3 separate regions of the Homo sapiens genome follow, and all the other regions are linked to region 2. Evidence: promoter capture Hi-C in human tissues and cell types (Jung and others, 2019). All regions are on one chromosome and are shown on one strand. The core of a region is centred on a gene start or on the middle of the fragment in contact, and the rest is flanking DNA. Distances in the headings are between cores, read along the strand shown.

Region 1 (3,178 bases), core at 637-3,136, 1.1 Mb after region 2:
CTGGACATTGTGCAATAAAGTAGAATTCTATATTGATAAGCAAACTATTTCCAAACTAAAAATGTGATAGATAAAAGTGTGATTAATCAAATGATATGATCAGAGTAAAGAATTTTGCCATTTTGATCCTTTTACTTTGTTTTAGCCACCTATAGTGTTACCAACCATCTTTATCCTTGTCTGCAGGGATAATAATGAACTAATGTAGTGTTTTAAGATAATTTAATGATACTATCTTTCCAAACTTTGTTAGATTTTAAATGTATTATTGACCTGAGACCTTAATGACAAATCACTGCTATTAGACAATTGAAGTGTTCATTTACTTTGTAATTCCAATAATCATAGTTATGGAATTATGGTAAGGTTTTGCTTTTCTGTCCTAATAAATATATATATTTTTTGAGATGGAGTTTTGCTCTTGTTGCTGAGGCTGGAGTGAAATGGCATGATCTCAGCTCACTGCAACCTCCGTCTCTTAGGTTCAAGCAATTCTCCTGCCTCAGCCTCCCGAGTAGCTGGGATTACAGGTGCTCACCACCACACCCAGCTAATTTTTGTATTTTTAGTAGAGATGGGGTTTCACTGTGTTGGCCAGGCTGGTCTTGAACTGACCTCATGATCCACCTGCCTCAGCCTCCCAAAATGCTGGGATTACAGGCTTGAGCCACTGCTCCCGGCTGATTTTTGTATTAGTAGAGACGACAGGGTTTCACCATGTTGGCCAGGGCTGGTCTCGAACTCCTGACCACAGGTAATCAGCCCGCCTCGGCCTCCCAAAGTGCTGGGATTACAGGCGTGAGCCACTTAGTATTTGTAACCATAAGAGAAAGTATATTTTAACAGCATTACATTTCATGCCAATTGACAAGTTTTGCCAATTTTAATAAGAAACTAAGCTTTATGTAATGTAACACCGTAATTTATGAATTTGTTCATTGTCACTGCCTTTATTCATGAAACTGTCAAATAGAGTGTCTTTCAAGGGTTGCAGGATCTTAGAGATAGAAAGTACCTTGGTGATCATCTCCAGCCTAAATTTCATCATCCCTTCTATGGTATTCCCAACAAATTATCATCCAACCTATACTTAAAAACATATGGTGGCCAGGCATGGTGGCTCACGCCTGTAATGCTAGCACTTTGGGAGGCCGAGGTGGGTGAAGCACCTGAGGTCAAGAGTTCGAGATCAGCCTGGCCAACATGGCGAAACCCCGTCTCCACTAAAAATGCAAAAAAAAAATTAACCGGGCGTGGTGGCAGGCATCTATAATCCCAGCTACTTGGGAGGCTGAGGCAGGAGAATTGCTCAAACCCGGGAGGCAGAGGTTGCAGTGACCCAAGATCGTGCCACTTCACTCCAGCCTGGGCAAAAGAGCAAAACGCCATCTCAAAAAATATACATATATAAGGAGATAAAGTTTCCCATTTTCCAATACAGTTTCACATTTGAACAGCCCTAATTGATACAACTTTATGGCAGGGTTTTAGTGTGTGAGTGGGATCCAAAACACTCAATCCTGTAAAAGGGTACAGTCCTATTGTATGTTAACACACTGATGATGTGAGCCTGTGAGATGAGCCAATCACCAGTTGTTATGTTCGAATCTGCTTTGTGTTGGGACGCTTTAATGTCAGGGTTTCACTAAATAAATGAATTTTCATATACTGAACTGAAATTTGCTTCTATCTGTCTTATCTCGGGAGCCACACACACAAAATTCCTCTCATCACATATTCAAATATTCAAAATTGATTATTATAGTCTCTCCAGTGAAGGTTTCCTTCTCTTTCTTTCCATTTTTGGCTAAATCCTTCTTATCCTTCAAGACTCCTTCTAGGTGTCATTTTCTCCAGACAGCTTTTATTGGCCTCCAGCAATCCGGACTAAATTGCACTCTGCTTCAAAAGCCCATTGTGCAGAACTTAAATTGTGCGCAAAGCAGTGTGTTAAGGAGCCTGTCTCCCCCTACTGGGCCACAAGATCAAGAACAGCGCCCATGTCTTCGTGTAACAGTGTTTAACAGTATCTGAACCATAGTAAGCAATGAGTCACTGTTAATTGACCTTGTTTTCACAATCTTGTTTTCCCTTTAAAAATTACTGCTCTTTGTCAAAGGCCTTTTTTTTTTTTTTTGAGACTTTAAGTCTCGCTCTGTCGCCCAGGCAGGAGTGCAATGGCACGATCTCAGCTCACTGCAACCTCTGCCTCCCAGGTTCAAGCAATTCTCCTGTTTCAGCCTCCCGAGTAGCAGGGATTACAGGTGTGCGCCCAGCTAATTTTTTGTATTTTTAGTAGAGACAGGGTTTCACCATGTTGGCCAGGCTGGTCTTGAACTCCTGACCTCAAGTGATCCACCCTCCTCCACCTCCGAAAGTGCTGGGATTATAGGCATGAGCCACCGTGCTCGGCCAGAGGCCTTCTTTTAAGTGTGACTTCCAAGATAAACACTTTTTCATATATTGTCTACCTTGGTGATTATGACAGAAATCTTGCCATCCTGTTAATAGGAATGATATTCCTTTGTAATGCTGTGTCAGCTTTCTGAAGTGTTCACATGTGATACTCCTAAGCCACACTTCCTATATTCGGAAGTTAATACAAATGGTTTTTAATCCTTAATATGGGCCTTTCTTGTTCTAAGAAAAATTTCATTTCAATATAGGAAAGGACTAACTATTTTCTTTGAATCTTTTGTAGAAGCTATTATTTTCTCCATAATTAGCCCAGCGTGCTCTCTCCACTTTCATCCCATTGATTAAGAAAGATGTTTGAGACAGGATTTCACTCTGTCACCCAGGCTGGAGTGCAGTGGTGTGATCCCCAGCTCACTACAGCCTCGATATCCTGGGCCCAAGTGATCCTTCCACCTCGGTCTCCCAAGTATCTGGGACTGCAGGCATGTACCACCAAGCCTGACTAATTTTTGCAATTTTTATTGAGATGGTGTTTCACTATATTGCCCAGGCTGGTCTTGAACTCCTGGGCTCAAGCAATCTACTTGCCTTGGCCTCCCGAAGTGCTAGGATTACAGGCAAGAGCCACCATGCCCAGCCAGAAAGATGTTAAATGAAATGAAGTTTTTAGGCCCACTGCTGGAGTCTTCTCAATTATCAATGAAACATGAATCTCTGGTATTTGGCTACAGTTACTGAAATATTTATAAAACAACCTAAT
Region 2 (3,041 bases), core at 69-2,568:
GGCTAGAAGGAAAGGGAAGAGGATGTGAATGGAGGAGGTGGTCCGCTGGCCGGGGAAACCGCATCCTGGAACTCGTTCCTAATCCCAGTTCCGAGGGAGGCGGAAGGGGCTTTCTTGCCACCCCCAAGTTGTCCCGAAGGGCTCGCCCTGCAAGGCCCGAGACCCGTGCGCCCCTCTGGGCGAGGGCGGGGAAGGCTGGAGCCCAGGGGCGGGGACCGGGACGGGAAAGGCCGGGCCCGGGGCTCCCAGTTCGCTCTGGGCCCGCAGAAAACCCTGCAAACCCAGCTGCGCGGGGACTCCGTGGGCGCTGCGCGGCGAAGCTGGAAACCAGCGCTGAGACCTCTCGGATTCCCCCCGGCGGCTGTCCCGGGGGCCCGGCTCCACCTTTGCCGTTCCGGGAAAAGCGGACGTCAGCCACAGACCCCAGCCCAGCAGGAGGGGCCGCGCGCGGGGAAGGGCGCACAACACCAGGGAGCTTCGCGCGGGCGGCGCTGGGCCCGAGCCCGCCTCTCCCGAGCTCCGCTTGCCCTTCCCGAACCCCGGGCCAGCCGGCGCGCCGAGCCGCAGCCCCGCCCTCCTCCTGCTCCTCGCCCCCTCCCCTGGTTTCCGCCCCAGCCGCACCGCCCCTTTACCGTCTGGGTCGCGCCCGGCGCGATTGCATCAGAGCCGGCGGCCGGCTGCGCACGTGGAGCCGGGCGTGCGGTCCATGCCGCTAGGCGCCCATTGGAGATGCCCACGCCCACCTGCGCTGCGGGCCCGGTCGGGTACTGGATCCCCCGTTCTCCGCCAGCGCTCCCGGCCGCAGTGCCCAAGCCCGCGTTTCCCGACACACCGCCCGGCCCCCCTAATGAGTTGGCACCAAACACTCGCAGCCCCGCGCCCCGCTCCCCACGGCGGTCCCGGGCGCTCCGCCCCTGGGTCGGGGCCACAGCCGCTGGAGACCTGGGCCAGGGCCAGACCCGACACTCACCTGACGATGGAGTCCCGCGCCGCGGGCGTTCGGCCGCCGGGGCTGCAGCTGCTCCGGGCCTGGCCATCCTGCGGCCGCCGCTGTCCAAGCAGGCCCTCCCGGCCACCGCCGCCGCCTCCGCCGCCGCCGCTGCTAGCGCGACAGGGCACACGGAGGCGGCGCGGAGGGCCCGGGGGCTGGGGCGGGCGGCGGAGCTGGCGCAGGACGAGCGGCAGACGCGTGCCCATGGCGCGGGACGGCTGGTTCTCAGGGGACACGGAGCTGCGGCTGCCGAGGGCGGCGGGGCGCGTGCCAGGGGAGCAGGCGGCGGCGGCGGCGGCGGCGGCGGGAAGGACCTGGCGCTTCCTCCTCGTCCCAGGGGCCCCTAGGGGGCACTGCACCCGGCGGCCGTGACGTGCGGAGGGCGGGGGCCTGCGAGCCGCCGGCCGGGATGTCACGGCTTTGGGCACTTTGGTTTGGTAAGCTGTACCAGACAGAGGGTGGGGTGCGGAGTGGGACTCAGACTCTGCCCTGAGACTCAGCCTCCCTCCCTTCAGCCTGAAAGGCCGAGGTGACCCTTGGTACTCAGGGCGCCAAGTTTAGACGGGAGGGCTTGGATTTGCTGTACTGGAGGTGGCCTGAGGATAAGAGGCTTTGTAACCTTAGGCAGGGGCACTTAATCTCGGTGAGCTTGCGGGGTCTTCGTCAGTACCACAGAGATAACAATGCTCTTCTTAAAACCTTAAAAGGATTTTATAGTCCTGATTGGTTCCAGGGCCCCTCCAGGGGACCCACGTCCACAAATGCTCAAGTCCTTGGTAAAAAAAAAAAAAAAAAAAAGTGTTTGCATATCACCTACACACATCTTCCCATCATAAACTTTAGGTCATCTCCACATTCCCTAAGTCCTCACCTAACATCGTGGAGGGGTTCTTGGAAACTGAAACTTTAAGCCAAATGACTGTAAGGAAAACAGTTTGACCACAGGCTAATTGATATGAGTGAAGTTCCTACAACATATCTGTGGTCACAAAATCGCCCCTAAACTTCGAAATAAAGACCAAAACACTTCTAATATTAAACATTGAAATAAGTGTGAGCCATGCATATATTTAAGGAAGATTTTTAGCTCACGCCTATAATCCCAACACTTTGGGAGGCTGAGGTGGGCAGATCACGTGAGGCCAGAAGTTCAAGACCAGCTTGGCCAACATGGCGAAACCCCATCTCTACTAAAAATACAGAAAATTGGCTGGGTGTGGTGGCGCGTGCCTGTATTCTCAGCTACTCGGGAGGCTGAGGCAGGAGAATCGCTTGAACCCAGGAGCCAGAGGTTGCAGTGAGCCGAGATCATGTCACTGTACTCTAGCCTGGGCGACAGAGCACAGCTCTGTCTCAAAGAAAAAGTTTTTTTTAAACACCCCCTATCCCTCTCGCTTAGAGAAAAATAAAGATTAATAAAAGTGAGATCATTTTTACCGGCTTATTCCAACTCAGGGCACCTCACAGGGTGTGCTCACACACACCCACACTCACACTCGGATCGTGTAGATGCACCAATTTACCTAAAGTGCACTGCACGGCTTTGGGATGTGACAGGACACCAGAAGACAGAGAAAATCCACACAGACATGGATAAAACGTGACAGTGGACCCAGCCAGAAATCTATTTTTTTCTCATCATTATAAGAAAACCACTGAGCAAAATGATGAAATGATGTTATTCCAGGACCTGCTGTACTTATAATACCTAATACAATGTAAATGCTATGTAAATAGATATTACACTGTACTTTTTTATTTCTATGATTTTTTATTATTTTTTGTTATTGTAATTTTTTCAAATACTTTCAGTCCCAGGTTGATTGAGGATACAGAGGGCTGACCATAAGTTCCAAGTAAAGTGGATATCAGATTGTAATTTTATGATTCCCAAGTGAGGGTCAGATTGTTAACTTTATATTTTTACAACCTTATACCCTTATAATTCCCAGATAAGGTGGGAATAAAACTAGTCCAAGTTACAGAGATTGGTTTTCCATTAGCCGAGCACCATACTGGGACAGTGCTGGAAGGACCCTTCATACAATCC
Region 3 (3,266 bases), core at 128-2,627, 1.5 Mb before region 2:
TTTGGGGTTTTTTTGGTATACCATTTTCTGGTTTGTTTGCTTTTCTTTGATACTTAACATTTACTCGTCTTTGGGATTAGTCCAGTAAATATTAACAACTCATATTTCTGGCTCACAGTAGGCCCCACAGACACCTGAGACTTAACAGGTCCAAAACAGAACTCCTCATACTGCCTCCCAACCCTGCTTTTCATACTTCAGAACTGATCATTTAGTAAAAAAGACTACAATATTCCATTTTTTATGTGTGCTTCATAGTCAAAGGGATGAGAATTCTTTACATTTCACACTTATTACTAAAGATTACTAATGATAAGCAAAAAATATCCAAGTACACAATTAAGTAGCCATTAGATCTGTTGGTTATACCTTACAGATTGTACTACCTAGAACTATATTGTTTGTTGGACCCTCTTCACAAAAGAAAGCACATAAATCATGCATCACTTATTAATTTCTTTCAGTATCATTTTCTAGAGTACACTAGATCAGTGCTTCTCACTGTTTAACATTACACAAAACATCCAAGGATCCTGTTACCATATAGATTCTGCTCAGTTGATAAGAGCCAGAGGAAGATAAAAGCATATTCTGATTTGATTGGAAGGCATTATCAGCCAGAAAGAAGTAGGCAACTTGGTTTGATTCAACTTCTAGTATTGACTTCTGATGAGACTTGTATTCCATAATTATAGCACTTCTGTCAACAAACCATGAATTGAACTACTCTCAATTGTTCTAAGCTCAGAAGATCCACTTAAAGAAATGGTGAAGTGTCAGCCAGGAGTAGTGGCTCATGCCTGTAATCCTAGCACTTTGGGAGGCTGAGGCAGGTGGATCACCTGAGGTCAGGAGTTAGAGACCAGCCTGACCAACATGGTGAAACCCTGTCTCTACTAAAAATAGAAAATTAGCCGAGCATGGTGGCACATGCCTGTAATCTCAGCTACTTGGGAGGCTGAGGCAGGAGAATCGCTTGAACCTGGGAGGCGGAGGTTGCCGTGAGCTGAGATCAGAGCATTCATTGCACTCCAGCCTGGGAAACAAGAGCAAAACTCAGTCTCCAAAAAGAAAATGGTGAAGTGTAATTTAGCATAGTATGAACAAACATCGATATTGACTACAGCTAATTTGCTCTTATACCTTTCCATGTATTTTCAGATCTGATGCAGAGAGTACAGCTGTCCACCTGGAAGCTTTGAAAAAGTTAGCATTGGCATTGCAGGAGAGAAAGTATGCTATTGAAGATCTGAAAGATCAAAAGCAGAAAATGATAGAGCATCTGAATTTAGATGACAAGGAGTTAGTCAAAGAACAGACGAGTCATTTAGAGCAACGTTGGTTTCAGCTTGAGGACCTCATTAAAAGGAAAATCCAAGTGTCAGTCACCAACTTGGAGGAGTTAAATGTGGTGCAGTCCAGATTTCAGGAGCTAATGGAGTGGGCAGAAGAGCAACAACCCAACATCGCCGAGGCCCTTAAGCAGAGCCCTCCTCCAGATATGGCTCAGAACCTTCTCATGGATCACCTGGCCATCTGCAGTGAACTGGAGGCCAAGCAGATGCTCCTGAAATCGCTTATAAAGGACGCAGACAGGGTCATGGCAGATCTTGGTCTCAATGAGCGACAGGTCATCCAGAAGGCTCTCTCTGATGCACAAAGCCACGTGAATTGTCTCAGTGACTTAGTGGGCCAGCGAAGAAAGTACTTAAACAAAGCCTTGTCCGAGAAAACCCAGTTTCTCATGGCAGTGTTCCAGGCCACCAGCCAAATTCAGCAACATGAGCGAAAGATAATGTTCCGTGAACACATCTGTCTGTTACCAGATGATGTGAGCAAACAAGTCAAAACATGTAAGAGTGCACAAGCCAGCCTCAAGACTTACCAAAATGAAGTCACTGGACTTTGGGCCCAGGGTCGCGAACTAATGAAGGAAGTCACAGAGCAGGAAAAGAGTGAAGTGCTGGGGAAGCTTCAGGAATTGCAGAGTGTCTATGACAGTGTTTTACAAAAGTGCAGTCACCGGTTACAAGAACTAGAGAAGAATTTGGTTTCTAGGAAGCATTTTAAGGAAGATTTTGATAAAGCTTGCCACTGGCTAAAACAAGCAGATATTGTTACATTTCCTGAAATCAACCTAATGAATGAGAGTTCTGAGCTTCATACACAACTGGCTAAATACCAAAACATTCTTGAACAATCTCCAGAATATGAAAATCTTCTACTTACGCTGCAGAGAACTGGGCAGACCATATTACCATCGCTGAATGAAGTCGATCATTCCTACCTCAGTGAAAAGCTAAATGCTTTGCCTCGACAATTTAATGTAATTGTTGCCTTGGCTAAAGACAAGTTCTATAAAGTCCAGGAAGCAATTCTTGCTCGGAAGGAATATGCTTCCTTGATTGAGTTGACAACCCAGTCTCTGAGTGAACTTGAAGCCCAATTCTTGAGGATGAGCAAAGTTCCCACCGACCTGGCCGTTGAGGAGGCTCTTTCTCTGCAAGATGGTTGCAGAGCCATTCTGGACGAGGTGGCGGGCCTTGGGGAGGCGGTGGATGAACTGAACCAGAAAAAAGAAGGTTTTCGCAGCACAGGTCAGCCTTGGCAGCCAGACAAGATGCTGCACCTTGTCACCTTATATCACAGGCTGAAGCGACAAACAGAACAGAGGGTTAGCTTATTAGAAGACACCACCAGTGCTTACCAAGAACACGAGAAGATGTGCCAACAGCTGGAGAGACAACTGAAGTCTGTAAAAGAGGAGCAGTCCAAAGTGAATGAGGAAACGCTGCCTGCAGAGGAGAAGCTCAAAATGTATCACTCCCTGGCAGGAAGTCTCCAGGACTCAGGGATTGTACTGAAACGAGTAACCATACATCTTGAAGATCTTGCCCCACACCTTGACCCCTTGGCTTATGAGAAAGCCAGGCATCAGATCCAGTCCTGGCAAGGGGAGTTAAAACTGTTGACTTCTGCCATTGGTGAGACGGTGACAGAATGTGAGAGCCGAATGGTGCAGAGTATAGACTTCCAGACTGAGATGAGTCGCTCCCTGGACTGGCTGAGGAGAGTGAAGGCAGAGCTCAGTGGGCCGGTGTACCTAGACCTCAACCTGCAGGACATCCAAGAGGAAATCAGAAAAATCCAAATTCATCAGGAAGAGGTCCAGTCCAGCTTGAGAATCATGAATGCGCTGAGTCACAAGGAAAAGGAGAAGTTCACAAAGGCCAAGGAGCTGATTTCTGCGGATTTAGAACACAGCC

Evidence for each region. Contacts are between HindIII fragments. The study calls those that stand out against the background at their distance.
Region 1: a contact is called between a fragment that was not itself captured here and the fragment with the promoter of MTHFD1L in region 2, in 1 of the 25 tissues and cell types used here (dorsolateral prefrontal cortex).
Region 3: a fragment that was not itself captured here is called in contact with the fragment with the promoter of MTHFD1L in region 2 in 1 of the 25 tissues and cell types used here (dorsolateral prefrontal cortex).

Annotation. Positions count from the first base shown.
Region 1 is chr6:149,722,816-149,725,993 of GRCh38, reverse strand. It overlaps NUP43 (nucleoporin 43), which reads left to right. Exons shown (of 8, transcript NM_198887.3): 8 at 1-1,679. Among named protein-coding and RNA genes, the nearest start is that of LATS1, 6.3 kb to the right of the region's middle. RefSeq lists a silencer at 1,265-1,467. The HindIII fragment of the contact is 3,959 bases long and covers 1-3,178 here.
Region 2 is chr6:150,863,979-150,867,019 of GRCh38, reverse strand. MTHFD1L (methylenetetrahydrofolate dehydrogenase (NADP+ dependent) 1 like) reads right to left here and starts at 1,318. Exons shown (of 28, transcript NM_015440.5): 1 at 971-1,318. The coding sequence starts at 1,197. RefSeq lists silencers at 147-296, 417-616, 777-1,186, 1,247-1,476. The HindIII fragment of the contact is 14,014 bases long and covers 1-3,041 here.
Region 3 is chr6:152,329,786-152,333,051 of GRCh38, reverse strand. It overlaps SYNE1 (spectrin repeat containing nuclear envelope protein 1), which reads left to right. Exons shown (of 146, transcript NM_182961.4): 78 at 1,162-3,266. Among named protein-coding and RNA genes, the nearest start is that of SYNE1-AS1, 49 kb to the left of the region's middle. The HindIII fragment of the contact is 4,614 bases long and covers 1-3,266 here.